2 separate regions of the Homo sapiens genome follow, and region 2 is linked to region 1. The links are contacts of gene promoters, found by promoter capture Hi-C in blood cells and fetal thymus (Javierre and others, 2016). All regions are on one chromosome and are shown on one strand. The core of a region is centred on a gene start or on the middle of the fragment in contact, and the rest is flanking DNA. Distances in the headings are between cores, read along the strand shown. Region 1 holds the start of LMX1A (LIM homeobox transcription factor 1 alpha). Region 2 overlaps UCK2 (uridine-cytidine kinase 2).

The links. Contacts are between HindIII fragments. The CHiCAGO score rates a contact against its expected background, and 5 or more counts as called.
Region 2: a fragment that was not itself captured here is called in contact with the fragment with the promoter of LMX1A in region 1 in 2 of 17 cell types (naive CD8 T cells and total CD4 T cells); the score reaches 6.2 in naive CD8 T cells.

The regions. Positions count from the first base shown.
Region 1 is chr1:165,353,853-165,359,001 of GRCh38, forward strand. LMX1A (LIM homeobox transcription factor 1 alpha) reads right to left here and starts at 2,863. Exons shown (of 9, transcript NM_177398.4): 1 at 2,503-2,863; 2 at 1,632-1,729. The coding sequence starts at 1,707. The HindIII fragment of the contact is 4,667 bases long and covers 2,563-5,149 here.
Region 2 is chr1:165,892,414-165,897,562 of GRCh38, forward strand. UCK2 (uridine-cytidine kinase 2) reads left to right here. Exons shown (of 7, transcript NM_012474.5): 4 at 3,777-3,919. Among named protein-coding and RNA genes, the nearest start is that of MIR3658, 13 kb to the right of the region's middle. The HindIII fragment of the contact is 1,691 bases long and covers 2,184-3,874 here.

The DNA.
Region 1 (5,149 bases), core at 1,613-4,112:
GCATATTGCACATGGGTTTTTGATAACTAAGAAGCGTCAAAACAGAGGGAGGGAAAAAAATAGCGGAAGAAGCAAGCCGCTGAGTGTCCCGGCCGGGATTCCCGATGCCAGGCGCGTTCGGCAGCAGTGCTTGAGGGCGAAACGGGCCTCAAAGTGACTCAGCGGAGGCAGGAAATCCACTCTTTGCTACCCCTTGGACTTTGTGTTTTGTTCCTTTAGTTTGTGGGGGGCGGAGAGGTGGTTCAGGTGGCGACGCTTGGCCACCTATATTGGCACTTTTCACAGCTATTTAAAGAAGGCCTTGTCCCCCAGCAACAACACTCTTGCCCTTGTCCCCCCAGTACCAACACTCTTGCGCTCCCCATTTCCCGGCTGCACTCTTCTCATTCTCCCCTTCCGAGAGGCCCGGCCACCGGCTCGGGAGCTGGGCCGGTCGCTTTGGGAGCGGATGAGGAAGGTTAGGAGAAGCAGCGAGATAGATCCCAATTTTACAATTCTATTTTCTTTCGGTAGGGTCTCGGCGTCCTGGGCCACGTTGAGAGCGAACGTGGGCCGAGCGGAGGACACAGAGTAAAAAGCGACGCCCGCTGTATACATAAATCCGCACCCGCTGCCCGCCCGGGTACTGCCTGCTCTGGCTTCCGCTCTCTTCCGAGGCTGGGCAAGTCCAAAAGTTCCCGAAAGGGGGGTTCAAAGAGGGGCGCTCAGTGCACGTGATTTCGTTTCATCTAGGGTGTTGGGGGTGGGGAGATTCCTCACTGGATTTGGTTTCTCCAGCAGAACTGTCTCATCCTCCACATTCATGCCGCTCTAGCGGTTCCGAGTGAAAGAGGCAAGAGGTTTAAAGGACAGAAGGAAAACTCCCTCCTGCTAAAAATAAATAAATAAAATAAAATAAAATAAAATACGGGCTTCCCAAACTTGAAAAGCTCCAAGGGCAGAGTGGGTGGGGGAGCCGTAACCAGAATCTCTGGCTTCAGCTCTGCAAGACCCGTGTGTGGACACTCTTCCGGGGTCCTTGACTCGCTGCTCCTCCTCTGTCGCTGCAAAGGAGTTGTGAGGGGGGACCCACAGGACCCGACATCCAGCTCCAGTTAATTAACGCGGAGCCTAGGGCCCAGCCGCGCGGTCTAATCCCCGCGCTGCGTTGCCTACTGGCCCAGAAAAGTCTCTCTCGGCCTTGCCCATGGCTGAAATTGGGGCTGGAGTTGGTGGGGGAGAGAAGCCTCCTCGAACTTGGGCGCTCCAGGCCTCGGGTCTCGGATGCTATTGCCTCTAGGCCGCGAGAAGAGGGCGGCATTTATGAGACGTCGATCAGCTCCGAGATTAAAAATCCAGCCCTGGGTATTTTTAATCACTTGCCACTCAGACGCCTACGAACAAGCTCGCCCGCCCCTCGCGGCTTTGGGGAATTCGGTGCCCAGTGCGTGAGGCCTGGGGCGGCTTGTTGGATTTATTTGGGTAGGGACGACCCACAAGCACTGACGGACAGATAGTGATGGGGCTCAATTTAGTGTATGAAGAGGGGCGCTAGCTTCCCTATCGCGGACCAGGTCCCAGAGAGCGGGGCTCCAGAGCTCAGCGCCAAGCGGAAAGAGAGTGCGCCCAGGACGCACGGCCTGAACACTCACCCAGCAGCGAGGAGAAGGAGGCCGAGGTGTCGATCGCGCTTTGGAAGTTCTCCTCCATCTTTAGGCCGTCCAGCATGTTCGGGCCGGGCCGGGAGGACCTGTAGAGGAGAAGAAACGATGCGTCTGACGTCCGTGCCCGCTGGGACTCGGCGCCAGCAGCCACCGCACTCCTGGGAAAGAACTGAGGGAGTGTCCAGGGCGACCAGAATCAGCCAGGAGGATAGGGTCCAGCCAAGAGAATGTAGGGTGGGAGGAGAGATCAGTCACAGCGAACTGCTCTGGCTGATCTGATTTCACTTGAAGTCAACACGTTATGTACTTAGGCCTCCGCCCCCCAACTGCGTTTCTCCTTCTCCTGCCCCCCTCACCCCCACCTACATCCCTTGCCCCAGGTTTTCCATCCCGAATCCGACTCCGCCCCAACCTATACGAAGGTGGGCCCTCGGGACGTCTCTGCAGGAACGCAGCTACTGGGGTATATTGGGTATATAAAGAGTGGGTACCCTCCCTCGAGCGACCGGGTCCAGGCACGCGGGACGATGGGGTTTGCAATCCCGCGTCCCAGCCGCCCCGTTGCGGCCCTCACCTGCCCCAGGTCGAGAAGGGGCACTGTAAGGGACCCGGAGGGCGTCCCGCCCGCTTCTGGACTCCTGGCGCTGCGCTCTGTTGGGGTGCGCGCAGGAGCCGGTGTGCGGGGCGCGCGGGGAGGTCCTCCCGCCAGTCGGCCAGTGCCGGGAATGTCTGCAGAAGCAAAAGAGTCGCCTCGGGGAGGAGCCCCGGCTGGCCCGGCTCACTCTTGGATGCATTTCAAGTCAACTTTCAGAAACACGCCCGCCCGAGCCACAGCCTAGGCACGGGCAGCCTTACTTACCTGGTAGGCGAGCTCTCTCCCAGTGACTGGAGCAGAGAGAAGTTGCGGAGCGCTGCTGGAAGCTTCTGCCCGGGAAGGCGTCGCCCCCGAGACTGCAGCCGGAGGAGCCGCCCTCGGCTTCGGAGCGCCGGGGAGGGAGCCGGAGCGAACGCCGGCCGCTGGCTCTGCTCCTCGGCGCGCCCAGGCTGGGCCGGGACGTGGTCGCGAGCTGCCGGCCTTCCCGGGACGTCCTACCAGCCCGCGTCGCTCCTCAGCGGGAGGAGAGGGCCAGTTGCTTCTCCAAGGCTAGGAGGGAAGGCAGAGGCCCAGGGTCCTGGGTGCGAGTCGGCCCTGCTTCGCCGGGGCGGATCCTGCAGCTTCTGACAGGGGCCGCGGCGCTGCGTGCGCGGCGGCGGAGAGGGGGTGGGGTGCGCTGGGCGGGGGGCTGGCAGCGCGTCCCGTGGCGGGGCCGTGGTGCTCCCTTTCCCAGCCTGGCTGCGCGGCCACCACACGGCCGCTGCCCTCTGAGCCCCTCCGCCTCTGGGAGCTCTCGGACACGCTAAGTTTCCTCCCCTCCACGTGTAACTGTTACCTCGGGGCGCTCTGGCCCGGTCGCCCCCCAGTGCCCCTCACCCCGACTGGGCCTTTGCGGAGATGTCGGCGCCTCCTGGACAGCGGTGCCGCCACGAGGATTCCCCCGCCGCTCTCCAACTGCTGCTATAAAAGCGCTGCAATCCTTACCCGGGCCCCGGGAAGCGCTGAGAAGCTGTTTAGCGCCAGTAGATGTGGGCCCAGCAGCTCCTAGCTCCTCAAACCCCTCATCACCCGAGGGCTCATGCCAGTTTCCAACTTCCTTTAAGGTCGAACCATATTCACTCATGGGGCGTACAGAGGCCATGGGACTCACGGCCTAAGAATCATGCTCTTGGGAGACACTAGGTGGGATCTGCCCCCCAGATGATGAACTTGCAATGACACTCAACAGGAAATCAGGTAAAGGGACATTGTTAGGGGAACAAAGTATCTGGGGAGAAATGTGAATTATCTGCACCTCCTAACTTTAATTTACAATAACAGACCTTTAGCCCCCTCCAGAGCAGGAATAAGGCCTTATCCGTCTGTATAGCCCAGGAGGTAAGCATGTTGTGTGACCCCAAGTGGATGCTCAATAAATAAATTACAATGCTGGCTAGCGTTTATCGTTTATTTTGTGCCAGCTTTGTTACACAGTCACCTCATTTAATCTTTACAACAACCCCCATGAAGTGGAGACAATTGTTGTCCCAATCTTACAGTTGAGGGAAATGGAAGGGAATTCATGGAATCCGAGTCCCATCATCTGAATACCATGGGAAGGTTCAGTTCAATTCAGTGTGATTCTCTGGGGCACCTTCAGTTCCTAAACTGAACTGAACTGAGATGAAATTGGCAGGCCGTTTGACATGGTGAACTCAGGCAGAGGAGATGCCACATAGCCAGGGTTTTTCTATTACCTCCTCCAAAGACAGAGCCACTTCTTTATTCCTAAAGAAAAAGTGCTGGCAGCAACTTGCTCTAATGTGCTTAGGAGCAGCGACCCCACTAAGCACTAAAAAAGCCATTCTAAGTGCTTTCTGCCAGCAGGCACAAGCCAAACACTGAATATGACTCCAGAAGAAAGAGGGGAAATGGCAAAGAGGCTAATACGTTATATTCGAATGCTGCTTTACAGGCATTTTCACATACATGATTTTGCTTGATCTTTACAGCAAACCTGTGAGGTAGGCAGAACAGTTTTATCTTTTGTTTCAGATGAATCTTTGGAGCTTAGCACGGCTGGGAGATTTCCCTGATGTTGCCCAGATGGCTAGTGGCATGTCTCCTAACACCTGACCTCTGTCCTTTCTGTCACCCCAGGTAGAGCAGGGTGTAAAAAAATACAAACTACAAGTATTATTAGGATAATATGTGAAATAGAAGTTAAGCAAGAAAAAAATGGAATAGGGCAGATACAACCATAAGGAATGTTTTTATGTAAATACCCGGCAGAATTTTGGTTTCACTAAAGGTCTTATATGAAATATATGAAATACATTTTAACTAGTGGTAAGACTATTCCTTTTAGTGAATATCCTGAAAGTAGATAGATTGTCATTTGACCTGAAACTCAAATCTTTCAAACAATTCTTACATCCACCCACAAGGCCGCTTGATTAGTGTAGATCACACAGGTTTTTGGTGAGAATGTCTCCCCAGCCATTGGGCACTTCAGGATGGGGACGGTGCCTCAAAAATCACATCATAAGTCATATCACTTTTAGTGCAGACCTAGACACATACAATTGATGAACAAATGCCTTTTACTTGGTTGAGGAATGAATAGAACTCTCACTACAGTCAGAAGGCACTGCAGTGAAGGGTCAGGAATCAAAGGACCTCCGTTCCATTCCCAGCTTTGCCACTGAATTGGTCTGGGCCATCAGTTCACCTCTTTAGATGTCAATACCTCTCTGGAATGAAGGGTCTACATTATGTGGTTGGTCAGGCCCTCACAGTCTAAAGTCTGTGAAACCAGTCCAGTGGGGTAGGCAGTGGGGTAGCTTTGGCCAGTGGGGTAGGCAGTAGAACCAACAGATCCATATGAGGTGCTGAGCAGTGGTTGCCTAGGTATAGTCTTGGCTGATGTGTT
Region 2 (5,149 bases), core at 1,779-4,278, 540 kb after region 1:
CTGGGGTTCATGGAAAAGTCCAAGAAACCACCATGTCTGGGTTTGCAGCCTCAATCTGGGAGCTTATGGACTGTTTGCAAAGTTTCCCTGTCTCAGTATTATGATCTCCTGAATATTGTGGATTTTGCTTCACTCTCACCTTCGAAGTCTCTTGTTGGCGTAGTAACCTGGAAGCATGTGGGGCAAGGGATTCTGAGAATTGTAGTTCTCCCTTAGGGGGAAGTGGTGGTGGTGTCACGTTGACAAGAGACATTCCAGCCCACCACTTCCCAAGTAAAGAATTAAAATGCAGCATGATGGCTAAGGCAAGGGCCTGCAGAAGAATGTAAAGGAGGGAGGAAGAGCAGGGGATTCAGAGCAGGTTGTATGGAGGAGGTGATATTTAAGCTTTAGATAGGAAAGGATAAGAAGTTGTTTGGGAAAGGGATTTCCAAGGTGCTGGGTAGGGAAGCATTTCAGAGCTAGGCATGGATCAGCTTGGTTGGGGCATGGCAGTGGAGAGGTGTGGAGGAATGGGAGTGGGTGTGTGGGAAGGCAGGCAGACCTCAGGTCATGAAGGGCCATAGGCGGCAGGGCCAGGAGCACAGACATTTTGGCAATAGGGAGCTACAGACGGGTCTATTGTTGTAGTGGAAAGGTCATTGTGGTGGCAGGAGGAGAGAGGATCTGCAATGCCATTTGTGAAGAAGCCTTTGGAACAGCCCCAGTGAGAGTCTGATAAGGGCCTGAAAGAAAGCAGTGGAACTGAGCATGGTTGACAGGAGCCAGGGCCTGACCAGTGCAGTCTAGGAGTGGAGGAGGGAAGTTGAAGACCTCGTGCATCATGAGTTCCATCAAGTTGATATGCCAACAAAAGAAAATCCTGGTAGAATTCCCAGTGCAGACATGTTTCACGTTTCCTCCTGATTTATCTCATACCTTATATTTTAAAACCTTATCCTTTAGTGGCTCAAAGCTCATGTCTTAGAAACTTTCACTGATCACCCTAGACCCATATCCACCCCTTTCCTACCTCCTTGCAAATCTTAAGGGCCACTTAATTGGACATCGAGCCATTCAGGGTTAACTGATTCCATCCCACCCATGGGCGTTTGGTACAAACAAAAATTTGTTGGGCTAAAATGAAGAAGACATTTACTTGTTGCAATTACATTTCTCTGAGCATCCTTTTCCCCATAAGCCAAATGAGATGGTTAGACTGGGTTATCTCAGATGATCTAATTGGCTAGTTTCTTTCTGGGGCTTCCCAGCCAGACTCTAAATTCCTAAGTGGTATATTATGCCAGGTATGACTCCTTGCACATTCTGGGCTAGTAGTTGCTCAATAAATTTGTTGTTGTTTTTTAAAAACTCTGAGCTGTTATGACAGTTTTTAGACCTGCGTTTGGACTTGGGAAATGATTAATTCTAACTTCTTAAGGCACCACCAACAAATTAGGCAGTTAATTTTCTCCTTCCGAAGGAAAACCACTTTTCCTTTTTAGTATTTATCAGTTAGGCATCCTAAAATGCTCTTAATATCTAGTGTCAGTACAGATTGAACATCCCTAATCTAAAAACCCAAAATGTGAAATGCTCCAAAATCTGAAACTTTTTGAGTGCCAGTGTGACGTTCAAAGGAAATGCTCATTGGAGCATTTCAGATTTTGGATTTTCATGTTAGGGAGGCTCATTGTAGATCCTCTCTCCCCCTGCCATATTAGGGATGCCCTAAATATAATGCAGATATTCCAAAATCTGAAAAAAATCCAAAATTCAAAAATTCTAAACACCTAAGCATTTCATATAAGGGATACTTAACCTGGATATGTAAACTTAGTGCAGCCATTGTGTTCTCTGTTAGTGTGTTCAAGTGGACTCTTGCACATACATTCACTTTATTTTTGGACAAAGCCTTCCCACACTCTCCTTGGTGTAGGGGAGTTGCCTAGAGAGTGGCTCACTATTTCACTTACCCATTGGTTCTGTTTTCTGAACTTCTCTAGGTTGCCTTCTTATGCACAATGACAATGGGCACACCATTTTCTGGCAGCTGACATTCCTCTAGACTGGTGCTTCTCTACCCTGGCTGCATGTTAGAAATATCTTGGGAGCTTCTAAATAGTGTTGAAGTTCTAGCTCCACTTCAGACTCATTAAATCAGAGCTCCTTGGGGGTAGGATCCAGGTAGGGATATTTTTATAAGCTTCCCAGATGGTTCTGATATGCATCTCAGATACACCACAATTCTAGGGCATTTCCTAATCCTAGTCCTTTTTTCCCGTCTTCCCTGCCCCGTTCTGCCACTTGCTAGCTACCCTAGCAGTGCCTGCCTTAAAACTCAGACACAAGCCTGTTGGTCCAAGCTGAGAAGGCATCAGGAAGTGTTTATGGGAAGGAGTTCCAACGGCACCCTCTTGAGCTGGCCGTTGATACTGACCTCCTTATGTTTGCACAGATGGAACTACTGTTTTAAGAGACTTTGTTTTATTTGGTTTGCCAGTGTGCTAGTCAGGGTGAGTGGAAACCTTGCAATGATGATTATTTCTCTATTTTCAGTGAATTTTGAGCAAGAGGCAGTTGGTGACATATAAGGTGGGCATAGGACAGAATCAAAAGACAAAACACAGTGAAAGCTGCAGCAAGGCAAAGCTGAGCACAAGCAAGGCCATCTGTGACAGCCCGTCGCCTAACCGTTTAGCAATGTTTCACCCTTCTTGCTTTTTGAAAAGTCATGTTGGTTGAGCTTGGTAGCTCATGCCTGTAATCCTAGCACTTTGGGAGGCTGAGGTGGGTGGGTTGCATGAGTCCAGGAGTTATAGACCAGCCTGGGCAATATGGTAAAACCCCGTTTCTACCAAAAATACAAAAATTAGCCTGGGGTGGTGGTGTGCATCTGTAGTCCTAGACACTTAGGGGGCTGAGGCGGGAGGATCGCCTGAGCCTGGGAAGTTGAGGCTGCAGTGAGTCCAAGATTGCGCCGCTGCACTCCAGCCTCCTGGGTGACAAAGTGAGACCCTGTCTCCAAAAACAAGAAAAAGAAAGAAAAGTCATGTTTACAATTAGTGCCTGCCCTAGGCTACCCAACCATGTGGGTTGGGTGGATGAGGTCATGCATATTTCTGCTTTATTGATAAGGAAGAGCAGCTCTAGGGAGCTCAGGATTGACCTGTGGCCACTTTGTTGGTTTGGGGTAGAGCCAGACCAGACAGACGTCGGGATTCTGTACTTCCTCACAAATGCTTTCTCGTCTGTATCCTCTTTCCCAAAACTTTTCTTTATTTTCCCTCCTTCCCTTCCCCTTCTGTCCTTTCCTCCCTCCTTTCAATTGCCTCAGGACTGGCGGGGAGGGGATGGAGTTGTTGAGAGAAAACTGTGAGTTTCTGTTTTTAAAGTTCAGAGTGTTAGGTTCCATAAATGCCAGGCCATGAGAGCATTCCTGGAGACGCCTTCAGAGAAAAAAAGAAATCACATCTGTTTTTGTCTGCCTTTATTCTTCATTCAACAGCAGGTTTTTTTAATTCCAAGGAGAAGGATGTCTGCCGTGTATTTCTGTTTCATGGTGAAAGCTCAGAAGTGGTCAAAGGAGACCTTTGTCCCGGCCGTGATCACCCTTGGCTCTTTGGTGGTGGTCCGAGGGCTCTGTAAGACCATATTAGCCAAGTCTTTAGCCCCCGCTTGAAGTCTGTGGGGGCAAGGAACCCAGAACCCAGCCCAGCCAGATGTTCTGGCCCTTGTTCTCTGTCCCTTGCTAGCCCCTGCCTGGCTTGGCCCATTATCTGCTCTGTGCTTTGCAGGAAGGAGGAGACAGTTACTGTCTATCCCGCAGACGTGGTGCTCTTTGAAGGGATCCTGGCCTTCTACTCCCAGGAGGTACGAGACCTGTTCCAGATGAAGCTTTTTGTGGATACAGATGCGGACACCCGGCTCTCACGCAGAGGTGCGTTCTAAAAGCCTCAGGTGGCCCTGTTGGTGGCCACCTTGAGGGCGGGGGAGCTGGGAGCCTGTGACAGGACCCCACCCGCCTGAGTCTGAAGCCCATGCCTTCCCTGAGGCAGCTGTGTGTCGCATGGTCCAGCCCGGCTGCGTCAGTCCAGCCCCAGGATATCCTGCTGCCCAGACACTTGGTAACATTTGAGAAGGGATTAGTCACTTACTGTTTGGGATAACGAAAGGCTTGTGAGGTCACAGAGACTAAATAAGACACTGACATCTGGTTTTGCCTGGAAAAGTTTGATTAAATGCTTAGTTCCTTGCAATTTGTTTATAAGACATCAAAATGAAGATGCTCTGATTTGGGGAACTAACTGTAGGACCCCCGAGGATAGGATCCCCTGTGCCTGAAGTACTGGGCAGCTCATCCTGTTAGCCTGCTTCTCTAGCCCTTTATTTTCCAGCAGGCTTTATGGAGGCATTATCACTCTTTCCAGTCAGCTCAGGAGGGAAGTCAGCTGTGCCCTCCGCAGGCCCTACTAAGTGTGGGCCTGCCTGTGCTAAGTCCCTGTGCTTGTGTGCTGAAGGCACAGCAGTGCCCCTTGGTAGAGGAGCCCAGCCTGTGAACTGAGCTCTACAGGGTATTCAGCAGAGAGTTCGCTTCCACCAGGAGAGATTGGGAGGCTTCATGGAGGAAGAAGGGTTGGGACTTGGATGTGGTGGGGTAGGGTGACGCTATAGGCAACCCATGAAGGTGCACGGCAGAGATGTACAGACAGTGGCTTGTTCCGAGAGTGGCAGGAACCTGGAGTGTACAGAGGGTTGTACGAAGAGACACTACAAAGTAGGTTGGGGTCTGGTTTTAGAGACTGAGATCTCTAGTCTGGTTCTCGGTGGGCAAGGGAGAGCCACTGTGAGGTTCTGAGCGAGGCAAGTGAAGTGGCCACTGTTCTGTGTTGGACACTGGTTCTGACAAAGGAAATGTAAGTGAAGCCTGTAGCTGGAGCAGCTCTTTGGAGACTGCTCTGCTGATCTAGACGAGAGGCAGGGCTGTGGTCCTTAGATGGGTGGGAGAGGGAGCAGAGTTGAGATGAGAAGAGTATTAGCAGAGTTAGAATCGACCAGGACCCAGCAAGGGCAGTGGGTGGAGGCGACTGAATAGAGGAATGAAAGGTGAGAAGGTTTGAGTCTCCGTTGTGTGACAGAGGCAGGGAGACACAGGAAATGACGAGGTTAG